3 separate regions of the Homo sapiens genome follow, and regions 1 and 2 are each linked to region 3. Evidence: promoter capture Hi-C in human tissues and cell types (Jung and others, 2019). All regions are on one chromosome and are shown on one strand. The core of a region is centred on a gene start or on the middle of the fragment in contact, and the rest is flanking DNA. Distances in the headings are between cores, read along the strand shown. Region 1 has its middle 13 kb from the start of TRK-CTT1-2. Region 2 overlaps LOC124903535 (a long non-coding RNA gene). Region 3 holds the start of ADAMTS7 (ADAM metallopeptidase with thrombospondin type 1 motif 7).

What was found. The method cuts DNA at HindIII sites, captures the fragments that hold promoters and counts their contacts. A contact is called where the count stands out against the background at its distance.
Region 1: a fragment that was not itself captured here is called in contact with the fragment with the promoter of ADAMTS7 in region 3 in 3 of the 25 tissues and cell types used here (hippocampus, mesendoderm cells and thymus).
Region 2: a fragment that was not itself captured here is called in contact with the fragment with the promoter of ADAMTS7 in region 3 in 3 of the 25 tissues and cell types used here (mesenchymal stem cells, mesendoderm cells and ovary).

Annotation. Positions count from the first base shown.
Region 1 is chr15:78,845,349-78,849,247 of GRCh38, forward strand. No RefSeq gene overlaps it. Among named protein-coding and RNA genes, the nearest start is that of TRK-CTT1-2, 13 kb to the right of the region's middle. The HindIII fragment of the contact is 5,610 bases long and covers 1-3,899 here.
Region 2 is chr15:78,863,263-78,867,124 of GRCh38, forward strand. It overlaps LOC124903535 (a long non-coding RNA gene), which reads left to right. Exons shown (of 2, transcript XR_007064727.1): 2 at 1-958. It also overlaps the pseudogene RPL21P116. Among named protein-coding and RNA genes, the nearest start is that of TRK-CTT1-2, 4.6 kb to the left of the region's middle. The HindIII fragment of the contact is 3,939 bases long and covers 218-3,862 here.
Region 3 is chr15:78,808,813-78,812,713 of GRCh38, forward strand. ADAMTS7 (ADAM metallopeptidase with thrombospondin type 1 motif 7) reads right to left here and starts at 2,652. Exons shown (of 24, transcript NM_014272.5): 1 at 2,309-2,652. The coding sequence starts at 2,408. RefSeq lists a silencer at 2,680-3,099. The HindIII fragment of the contact is 14,119 bases long and covers 1-3,901 here.

The DNA.
Region 1 (3,899 bases), core at 1,255-3,754, 36 kb after region 3:
CTCCGCCTCCTGGGTTCAAGCGATTCTCCTGCCTCAGCCTCCCGAGTAGCTGGGATTACAGGCGCCTGCCACCACACCTGGCTAATTTTCATATTTTTAGTACAGACGGGGTTTCACCACGTTGTTCAGGCTGTTCTCGAACTCCTGACCTTGTGATCCGCCCTCCTTGGCCTTCCAAAGTCCTGGGATTACAGGAGTGAGCCACTGCCCCTGGCTTTTTTTTTTTTTTTTGAGACGGAATCTTGCTCTGTTGCCCAGGCGGGAGTGCAGTGGCACTATCTTGGCTCACTGCAACCTCTCACTTCCCAGGTTCAAGTAATTCTCCTGCCTCAGCCTCCTGAGTAACTGGGATTACAGGTGCACACCACCACGCCTGGCTAATTTTGTATTTAATTTTCTTATTTTAATTTTTTTTTTTTTGTAGATATGGGGTCTTACTATGTTGCCCAAGCTAACCAGCCAGCTTTCTTTTAGTTAGATGTTGTTAGGCATATTTTTATCTGTGTCTATTTTAGGTGTTTCTCTTATAAACTTGGTTTTGTTTTACTTTTAATCCAGCTTGACAATTTTTGTCTTTTACCTTCCTAATTTAGTTCATTCACATTTATTATGGTTTTCACTGTAATGGCTAGATATGTTTCTATCATATTTGATGCTTTATCATTATCTTTGTTTTTCTATGTTTTAATTTCCTCTCTTTTCATTTGGATTTAATTATTTTTCTCATTTCATTTTTTTCCCTCTAGTAGTTTGAGAGTAGTACACTCTATGTTTAGTTTTTTTAATGACTATCCTATAATGTTCAACATTTCTTCTTGAATCTCAAACTTATCGGAGGCTCATTTTCTCTTTTTCTGAACTATTTCCTTTAAACATGTCTTTAGTGAAGGTTTGTTGATAAACTTAATTTTTGTCTGAAAATGATCTGATTTCCTTATCATTCTTGAAATATAGCTTCATTAGTTTAATTGTATGTTGATTGTTCTTTTTATTCCAGCTCTTTGAAGACATTATTCTACTGTCTTCTGGTTTTCCATCCTTGCTTTTGAAAAGTCTGCTATCGATTTAATTGTTTTTTTGTTTTGTTTTGAGGCAGAGTTTCACTCTTGTTGCTCAGGCTGGAGTGCAATGGTACGGTCTCCACTCATTGTACCCTCTACCTCCCGGGTTCAAGCAATTCTCCTGTCTCAGCCTCCCGAGTAGCTGGGGTTACAGGCATGCGCCACCACGCCTGGCTAATTTTTGTATTTTTAGTAGAGACACGGTTTTACCAGGTTGGTCAGGCTGGTCTCAAACTCCTGACCTCAGGTGATCCACCCACCTCGGCCTCCCAAAGTGCTGGTGAGAGGTGACAGCGTGCTGGCAGTCCTCAGAGCCCTCGCTTGCTCTTGGCACCTCCCCTGCCTGGGATCCCACTTTGGCGGCATTTGAGGAGCCCTTCAGCCCCCCACTGCACTGTGGGAGCCCCTTTCTGGGCTGGCCAAGGCTGGAGCCCACTCCCTCAGCTTGCAGGGAGGTGTGGAGGGAGAGGCACGAGCGGGAACCGGGGCTGCGTGCGGCGCTTGTGGGCCAGCTGGAGTTCCAGATGGGCGTGGGCTTGGTGGGCCCCGCACTCGGAGCAGCCAGCCAGCCCTGCTGGTCCTGGGCAATGAGGGACTTAGCACCCGGGCCAGTGGCTGCGGAGGGTGTACTGGGTCCCCCAGCAGTGCCGGCCCACCGGCGCTGTGCTCAATTTCTCGCCAGGCCTTAGATGCCTTCCCGCCGGGCAGGGCTCGGGACCTGCAGCCCGCCATGCCTGAGCCTCCCACCCACTCCATGGGCTCCTGTGCGGCCCGAGCCTCCCCAAGGAGCGCCGCCCCCTGCTCCACCGCGCCCAGTCCCATCGACCACCCAAGGGCTGAGGGGTGCGAGCGCACGGCGCGGAACTGGCAGGCAGCTCCACCTGCAGCCCCCGTGCGGGATCCACTAGGTGAAGCCAGCTGGGCTCCTGAGTCTGGTGGGGACGTGGAGAGTCTTTATGTCTAGCTCAGGGATTGTAAATACACCAATCAGCACCCTGTGTTTAGCTCAAGGTTTGTGAATGCACCAATCGACACTCTGTATCTAGCTGCTCTGGTGGGGCCTTGGAGAACCTTTATGTCGAAACTCTGTATCTAACTAATCTGATGGAGACGTGGAGAACCTTTGTATCTAGCTCAGGGATTGTAAACGCACCAATCAGCCCCCTGTCAAAACAGGCCACTCGGCTCTACCAATCAGCAGGATGTGGGTGGGGCCAGATAAGAGAATAAAAGCAGGCTGCCGGAGTCAGCATTGGCAACCTGCTATTGTCCCCTTCAATACTGTGGAAGCTTTGTTCTTTTGCTCTTTGCGATAAATCTTGCTACTGCTCAGGTCCACGCTGCTTTTATGAGCTGTAACACTCACTGCGAAAATCTGCAGCTTCACTCCTGAGCCTAGCGAAACCACGAGCCCACCGGGAGGAACAAACAACTCCAGACGCGCTGCCTTAAGAGCTGTAACACTCACTGCGAAGGTCTGCACCTTCACTCTTGAGCCAGCAAGACCACGAACCCACCAGGAGAAAACTCCGAACACAACTGAACATCAGAAGGAACAAACTCCAGACGCACCACCTTCAGAGCTGTAACACTCACCGCGAGGGTCCGTGGCTTCATTCTTGAAGTCAGTGAGACCAAGAACCCACCAACTCCAGACACACTGGGATTACAGGTGTGAGCCACCGCGCCCGACTGATTTAATTGTTGTCTTATTTTAGGTAATCTCTTTTTTCTCTCTGGCTGCTTTAAGTTTTTTATTTTTTAAGAGACATGGTCTTGCTCTGTCATCCAAGCTGGAGTACAGTGGCCCAATCACAGAGCATAGCTCACTGCAGCCTCGAACTCCTGAGCCGAAGTGATCCGCTCATTTCAGCCTCTCGAAGAGCTGGGCCTATGAGTGCACACCACCTCATCTGGCTAATTTGTTTTATTTTACTTTTTTTAGACAGAATCTCGCTCTGTCACCCAGGCTGGAGTGCAGTGGTGCGATCTCTGCTCACTGCAAGCTCCACCTCCCGGGTTCATGCCATTCTCCTGCCTCAGCCTCCTGAGTAGCTGGGACTACAGGCACCTGCCACCACGCCGGGGTAATTTTTTTTTGTATTTTTAGTAGAGACAGGGTTTCACCGTGTTAGCCAGGATGGTCTCTATCTCCTGACCTTGTGATCTGCCCAAAGTGACCTCGGCCTCCCAAAGTGCTGGGATTACAGGTGTGAGCCACTGCGCCTAGCTATTTTATTTCATAGAAACAAGGTCTTGCTTTGTTGCTTATGTTGGCCTTGCACTTCTGGGCTCAAGCACCCCTCTTGCCTTGACCTCCCAAAGCGCTGGGATTGCCACAACACCTGGCTCCTTCCCATTTTTGTTAGTCTTTTGTTTCTTACTCATGTTTTCAAGTAGATCTTTTATTTCTTTAAACTAAATGGTATTATAGTTTAATCATAGCAGCTTAAGTTTTATGGGCATAATTCTGCTGTCAGTCATGTCTGTTGATGTCACTTCTGATTGTGAGGTCATGTTTATACACACTTTATATCTAGGAATTCTTTGCCATCTGGGTTGAAGGTAGCCTTCACCAGAGAGATTTTCATTTACTTCTGCTATTTTTAATTAAGATACAGCTTGGGCAGGGCACAGTGACTCAGGCCTGTAATCCTAGCACTTTGGAAGGCAGAGGTGGGCAGATCAGTTGAGGTCAGGAGTTCAAGACCAGCCTGCCCAACATGGTGAATGAAATCCTGTCTCTACTAAAAATACAAAAATTAGCTGGGCGTGGTGGTGTGCACCTGTAGTCCCAGCTACTCAGGAGGCTGAGGCAGGAGAATTGCTTGAACCTGG
Region 2 (3,862 bases), core at 937-3,436, 54 kb after region 3:
TAGGGAATAGGTTCCAGCAGCTCAGGCTCCTTCGCATTGGTTCTCACAAAGTGTGCTTCTCTGGGTGGAGCAGGCTGGTGCTTCTGTTGAACCCAGGTACCTTTCTATTTGGCTTCCTTCTTTTTCTGATCATTTTCCTTCATGTGTTTCAGGAAACTATCTCAGCTTTTAGAGTGCTTAATGTGCTCAATACGCACATTAATTCTCTTGGCAAGAATCTTGCCCTTAACTTGTGTGTTTACAACAATGCCAACAGCATGCTGGGGGACATTATAGACTCTTCCAGTTTTGCCATGGTAACACTTGTGGGGCATTCCTTTTTGAACAGTACCCATTCCCTTGATGTCTACAATATCACCTTTCTTATAGATTTGCATATACGTGGCCAAAGCAACAACTCCATGTTTTCTAAAAGGCCTAGAGAACATATATTGGGTGCCTCTCCTCTTTCCCTTTGTGTTCGTCATTTTGGCGAATTACTGGAAGATGGCGGTTCCGGCTGAAAGGAACAAGCTTAATCTTAATGGATATTTTTTCTTATTTTGGCTGATGATTCATTATGTTGAGTAGTGACTTATTACTATTTGTACTAAAAAATGCAAAGATATACAACGTCAAATACATTTTATTCTCCCATGGAACTCATATTTGAAGATGTTATGTTCAATTAATCTATAAATGAACACTTTAAGACAGTGTGCTAATTTAATGCAGTCCAGTTTCTTCAACAAGTAAATGGCAAAAAAAGAGACAGAGATACCTTAATGGAATGAAATGTGTGGACTTTGTTTCCATCTTGATTTGAACCAGTCATAAAGAAACATGTATGAGACAATCAGGGAATCTGAACACAGACTGGGTACTTGAAGATAAGGAGTTATTTGCAATTAAATGCAACAACGTCATTTAGAGATACATACTAAATTGTTTATGAATAAAAAAGACATGATCTCTGGAATCTGTGTATATGCATTTTTCGGGGGAGAGGAATGAAGAGATACCAATGAAACAAGATTGGCCACATGTTAATAACTGTAGAAGCTGAGTGACCCATACAACAGAGTTCATTACACTATCACCTCTGCTATTGTATATGTTTACATTTTTCCATAAATTTAAATATCATTAGATTCTGCAAAAACAAAAGTGTCTTAACCTCTGTAGCTCAGTGATCACACTTAGCATCACTAACAGTGGGACAACCAGATATCATGTGCCTGCTGATGTAATGCAATGAGAACTGCACAGCATCACCTTTAAAATAATCTTGTCAAAACACTCAACTTAGATCTAATCAAGTCTTTAGACCTAACTTTACATTTATAGGAAATGTAAATAACAAGTAACACCGTGAGTAAATAATCAGGTGAACCCAGAATGTCAGACATTCAACAAAGGCCTGGGCTCTTCAGAAAGCAAATACTAATACTAAACAAAGACTAATACCACTACTAATAAAGGCTATGTGTGTGGGGGCAGACTGTATTTGAGCCAAAGGCTTCCCCTCCAGCCCCACTGACAGTCTGGTGAAGCCAATGAATTCTTTTCTCAGAATGTCTTAAATGCATGAAATAAAAAACAGGATCATTAAAAAATAGGTTTTTTTTTTTTTTGAGACGGAGTTTTGCTGTTGTTGCCCAGGCTGCAGTGCAATGGCGCGATCTTGGCTCACCGCAACCTCCGCCTCCCAGGTTCAAGCGATTCTCCTGCCTCAGCCTCCCAAGTAGCTGGGATTACAGGCATGTGTCACCACGCCTGGCTAATTTTGTACTTTTAGTAGAGACGGGGTTTCTCCATGTTGGTCAGGCTGGTCTCAAACTCCTGACCTCAAGTGATCTGCCCGCCTCGGCCTCCCAAAGTGCTGGGATTACAGGTGTGAGCCACCACACCCGGAGAAATATAGTTATCAAAATATTTTAAAGTACAATATGGAATACACATGTTCCATTATTAATGCACTAAATAACAAGATCTAGCAGCAGGTCCAATAACTACAATAGTTTTATTTTATTTATTTATTTAGAGACAGGGTCTTGCTCTGTCACCCAGGCTGGAGTGCAGTGGTACAATCTCAGCTCACGGCAACCTCCACCTCCTGAGTTCAAGCCATTCTCCTGCCTCAGCATCCCGAGTAGCTGGGATTACAGGCATGCACCACCACACCCAGCTAATTTTTGTATTTTTAGTAGAGACGGGATTTCACCATGTTGGCCAGGCTGGTCTTGAACTCCTGACCTCGTGATCCGTCTGCTTCGGCTTCGCAAAGTGCTGGGATTACAAGCGTGAGCCACTGCGCCTGGCCAACTATAATAGTTTTAAAGTAGTGATGAATATAAATGATATTTCTGAGATATTTTCATTAGCCGTAATGTGATATGAAAACTTCTGTAATTTATATTGATGACAAAGCCACAGCTCATAGTATTGTACTTCGTTATCTTCATTTGTAATGGAAGGAAATGCTAAATTTTTTTTTTTTTTTGAGATGGAATCTTGCTCTGTTGCCCAGGCTGGAGTGCAGTGGCGCAATCTCAGCTCACCGGAAGCTCTGCCTCCCAGGTTCACAGCATTCTCCTGCCTCAGCCTCCAGACTAGCTGGGACTACATGCGCCCACCACCACGCCTGGCTAATTTTTGGTATTTTTAGTAGAGATGGAGTTTCACTGTGTTCGCCATGATGGTGATGGTGTTGATCTCCTGACCTTGTGATCCGCCCGCCTCGGCCTCCCAAAGTGCTTGGATTACAGGCATGAGCCACTGTACCCGGCCTAGGAAATGCTAAATTTTAATTAGAATTTGGTGAAAATAAAAATGTAATTTTTGCCTCATCCAACTTCATGGACCCTTTGAATTGTATCCACAGACTCCTAACTTAAGAACTTCTGCTCTACGTTTAAAAAGACAAGAGATTTGGCCAGGCACGGTGGCTCGTGCCTGTAATTCCAGCACTTTGGGAGGCTGGGGGAGGTGGATCACTTGAGGTCAGGAGTTTAAGACCAGCCTGGCCAACGTGGTGAAATCCCGCCTCTACTAAAAATACAAAAATTAGCTGGGCGTGGTGGTGTGTGTCTGTAATCCCAGCTACTCTGAGGCAGAATGGCTTGAACCCAGGAGGCGGAGGTTACAGTGAGCCGAGATTTGAGACTCTGTCTCAAAAAAAAAACAGAACAAACAAACAAAAAAACAAGAGATTGCTCAGTTCTGGGGCATAATTAAAAAAAAAAAAAGAGATTGTAGCCAGGAGTGGTGACTCACACCTGTGACCCCAGCACTTTGGGAGGCTGAGGCGGGCAGATCACCTGAGGTCGGGAGTTCGAGACCAGCCTGACCAACATGGAGAAATCCCATCTCTACTAAAAATACAAAAATTAGCCAGGCATAGTGGCGCATGCCTGTAATCTCAGCTACTCAGGAGGCTGAGGCAGGAGAATTGCTTGAACCCGGGAGGCGAAGGTTGCAGTGAGCCGAGATTGTGCCATTGCACTCCAGCTTGGGTAACAAGAGTGAAGCTCCGTCTCAAAAAAAAAAAAAATTTAACAATCAAATGTAATACATTGTTATTTAATAGGTCTTGTTTTGAAAAAAGGAGGACACAAACAAGCGAGGAAATCTGGAGTGAGTACTGCATAATTTTAGGAAACTATTGTTATTCCCTATTGACATAGGTTTCTAATAGCAACAACTTGAAAGCAGACTGCATGTTATTGTGCTGGATGTGATATGGTATTGTGGCATGTAGAGAATGCTTATTTTGGAAGTACATACTAAAGAAACCAGGTGTGAATGGTTATTATGTGTTTACACACACACACACCCCACATAAATATGTCAATATAAGGCACATCCGGGGAAATGTTCACAG
Region 3 (3,901 bases), core at 1,402-3,901:
TTCATGGCCAAATCTATTCTGCCAAGTCAGGAGGTCTGTTCTGATTGGACCAAGCTCCTGCCACATTGGGTGTTAAATACTTTTAATATCTCCCCTGGGTGACAGAACTGTCACTTTGGAGCTTCTACCAAAGAAATGCCAAGATGGTGTTTACCCTCACCTCCCTATCAAGAACCTGAGTTACAATCCAGCCCTTCAAATGACCCACAGCTCATGCCAAGGAGGAAAAATAACTGGCAGGGTGGGGGGTAGTATGTGAATGCCCTCCTCTGTGAGTTCTAGTATGCACAGAAACACATGCACACAGAGTTCACATGTGCCATACGGCATGAGGAGGACACATGACTGGGCTCCAGCCTCAGAAACCCTAGCAGGTCCCTGGGTCAGTCACAAGTGGGGAAAAGGGATATATTTTCCTAAAAGTGAGCCCAGGATGAGCCCTTTGGTCTTAAAGAAGGTAACATTCAGTGGTAGGAGGAGCCCCAGGCTTAGGTCCTGGGCTTCAAAGAAAATGACAAACAGGCCAGCAGCCTCAGAGTCACCAATCCTGAGGGAGTGCAGAACAGGAAGGACCCCATGCTCTATATCTATGGGAACACTAGAGACAGACTTCACCCTTGGAGTGTTTGTGCCCAGATTAGGTTGGAGAGAGTGCCTGGCCTGCCTCCACCCTCAAACAGCAGGTCCAGGTCATCTGGGGAGTCCTGGGTCGGCCTGGCAGATTAATAAAAATAATGACCACTACATTGTAGTCACTGTGTCCTGCCTGAGCAACTGACATATTCAATATCTCATTTAATCCTCATAAGAATCCCACGAGGTTGACCGCACCCAACTCTTCCCACAGCTGCCAGGGGGCCAGGACCCAAGTCCTGAGGGAAGCATTTTCCTGCTCTCCCATTCCCATCGCCCGGTTCATCCTCCTCAGCCCCCAGCTCTGGACAGTGGAAAACACAAGCCTCATTCAGGAAGCTCAGGAGTCCAACCCCACAGGTCGCTCTACTCTGAGCCTGTTTGCTGGTCCATAAAAGGACTTTCCATCACTTGCTTTGCACGGTTGTTGTGGAGATGATGAGAAATAAGAACCCGTGAGGCTGGCACACAGTAGGTGCTCATTAAATGTTCGCTCCCTCTGCGCTCTGCGCATGGCTGCTAGACCAAATCTTTCCAAAACACTGCTTTCATCAGCTGCTCCCCTCAACGGCTTCCCAAACCTCTAAGATCAAGAGTCAATGTCCCCATCCTTCCCGCCCAGACTACTTTCTCGTCACAATCCCTCCAGTGGGGAGGCAGGTCGACCCCATCCCAGCAAGCAACCCTAATCCAGTCCCCCGACTGATGCTCCCCAGGGGAGGGCCCCACTCCCTCCACGCCCTTCTAGCTCATCCAGAATCCATCCATCCTTCCAGTCTCTCCAACCTCATGCCCCTCCTCTCCTACAAAGCCTGCCGGTCGGCTCTATTGCAGGACTCTCCCCACTATCCACCGGCTCCCCTGACTGGGAGCTCCCTGAGCACCGGGCCTGGGGTCTCCTACATCCTCGGTTACTGAATTCCCAGGCCGGCTGCGTCGGACGCGCCAGCAGCGCGGCCGCCCGGCAGGTCGCCGCCAAACAAGAGTCTGGACGCAGGCCAGAGGCTCGTCGGAGGCCGGCCCGGCGGGGCGGGGAGAGTTAACCCATGGCCGGGAAAAGAAGCTCCTGCTCCCCGCTCCACTCCCGGCGTCTTCACACTTGGGGAAGGGAGAGGCAGGAAGTGCAAGGACCGCGCAAGACCCGGCCCCCCGAGCCGCCAGGGGCCGCGCCAGCAGCCCAGATGCGGTGGGCGGGAGCTGGGGGGGCGGCGGGGTCCCGCGAAGACCTGCGACCTGGCGCCCTCGCCGGCTGTGTCCCGGCCAGCCCGCTTTCCAGGCGAGCCTCGCTAAGGAGTGTGAGAAACCAAATCCTCAGTGGGTAAACCGCGCTCCGTCCAGCCCACTCGGACGAGAGCTCTCCCGGGAGCCAGGCGCGTTGCTGCACCCGAGGTGGGGAAACCGGAGCCCGAAGAGCGGAAGGGGCTTATTCCAGGCGACAGGCAGTGTCAGTAACTGAATCAGGGGCCGAGGAAGTTTCCCCAGAAGCGCGGCTTCGCTCCCGGCCCGGCCCGACCCCGACTACTGTCCCCTAATACCCAGGGAGCGGAAGACGCGACCAACTCCAGGCACAGCGGAGCCGGCGCGGGGTCCACAAAGGTGAGGAGGGACAAAACCGAGACTGGGGGAGCGGGAAGGGGTGGCAGGCCCGGCTGGCCGGGGAGGGGCGGACACCCACCTGGTGCGGGTCCGGGGGCGCCGGGAGCCAGAGCGCAGAGGAGCAGGAGGAGGGGGCGCAGCAAAGGCGCGGGGCTGCGGGGACTGGGGCCGCCGGGCATGGCAGGAACCGGGCGGCCGCCGGGTGACCCCGCGCGCACGCTCTCGTCCGTCCCGTCCGGTCGCTGCCTGGTCCCAGGTCCGGCTCAGGACATGCCCGGCCGGCGTGCAGCTCCCGGCGACCCGGCCCCGACTCCGTTCGGCTGCGCTCGGTCCGCGGGCAACAAAGGCTGCAGGGCCCGCCCCCTTGGCCGCTGCAGAGGCAAAGAAAAGACAAGAGAGCTAGAAGGAGAGAAAGAAAGAAAGAAAGAAAGGGAGGGAGAGTGAGGGAGGGCGGCTGCCGGCCCCCGCCCCGCCCCTCGGACTCCTTCCCCCGCCCCTGGCCCCGCCCCGCCCCGGCCGGCCCCGGCCTCATCGGCCCCGCAGGCCGTGCTCGCCTCAAGGGCTGGCCGGCCCGGCGCAGGCAGCGCCCCGCAACGGATGTCCGCCCCCCTCGCCCCCCTGTCCCGAGCGCCCCCTGCCGGCGGAGCCCTGCCAGGCCTTTCCGACCCCGGCCGGTTGAGGACCCCCGGAAAGAATCTGGAATTTCCAGAATTAATGTGTTGTCCCTAAATTGGGCTCCACGAGGTGCCCTTCGCTGTGTTCCCCAGGCCAAGCAGGGCAGCCCCTCAAAAGGGGACGCGGGAGGCCTCCAGAGGGCCACACCGGGGGCCCTGCTTCAAAGCTATCTGCGGAGACAGGCCTGGGCCCTCCCTGGACAGACAGCGGTTGCCCGCGCGAGGTGGGGCCCCGCAGTTCCTCGTCTCCTGACTCCTCTCCTAGTGCGTTTGCTTGAAGCAGAGCGCAGAGTTGAGCCCACAGGCGGGGGACCGCGGCTTCGCCCAGGCCAGCGCCCACAGACTTTCAGCAGGGGCTCCCGGGGAGCCTGGAGGCCGGCCAACCCCAGCCTCACATCCCAGGCCAGCCTCCGCCTCCAACACCGGCCGTCTGTCCTTCGTGGCCCCAGCCCTGGCTCTGGCTTCCGGCTCCCCTTCCCCCTGTGCTCCCAGGAGCTTCCTTTCTCCCTTCTGCCGTCACTAAACATGGCCCTGTACCGAGGACGCCCGTCTTGTCCTCGGGGCGGTTGCGGTCAGCTTCCTCCCCTTGGTTAGTCTTTGTGTGCCCCCTGCCCTCTGAGGCCCGCACACCTCCTCATTGTCCAATCTCCTGGGCCCTTTCATTCAATTCCTGGAAGCTCACTTCTGGCTTCCTCTCCACCCTCAACCTGTCTGTCCTCTAGGGAATTTGTGTAGTACAGGGTCACCTACTTCCTCCATCTCATCTCCAGTGACCTTCCACTCCACCTCAGCCATCAGGTCTCAGGGCCAAAGCCTGGGCTGTGTCATCCCTCAGAACTGCTCCATCTTGGAAATCCGAAGCTCAGGTGCCCCCCTGTCAGACCCGACTCTGCAGTCCTTTCCACCTTCACAGTCCCACTATGTATTGCTCTTCCTCCAGTCCCTTGATACCTTCCTCTTCGCCCAACCTACCAGCCCCTCCTGGCTTCACCTACTTC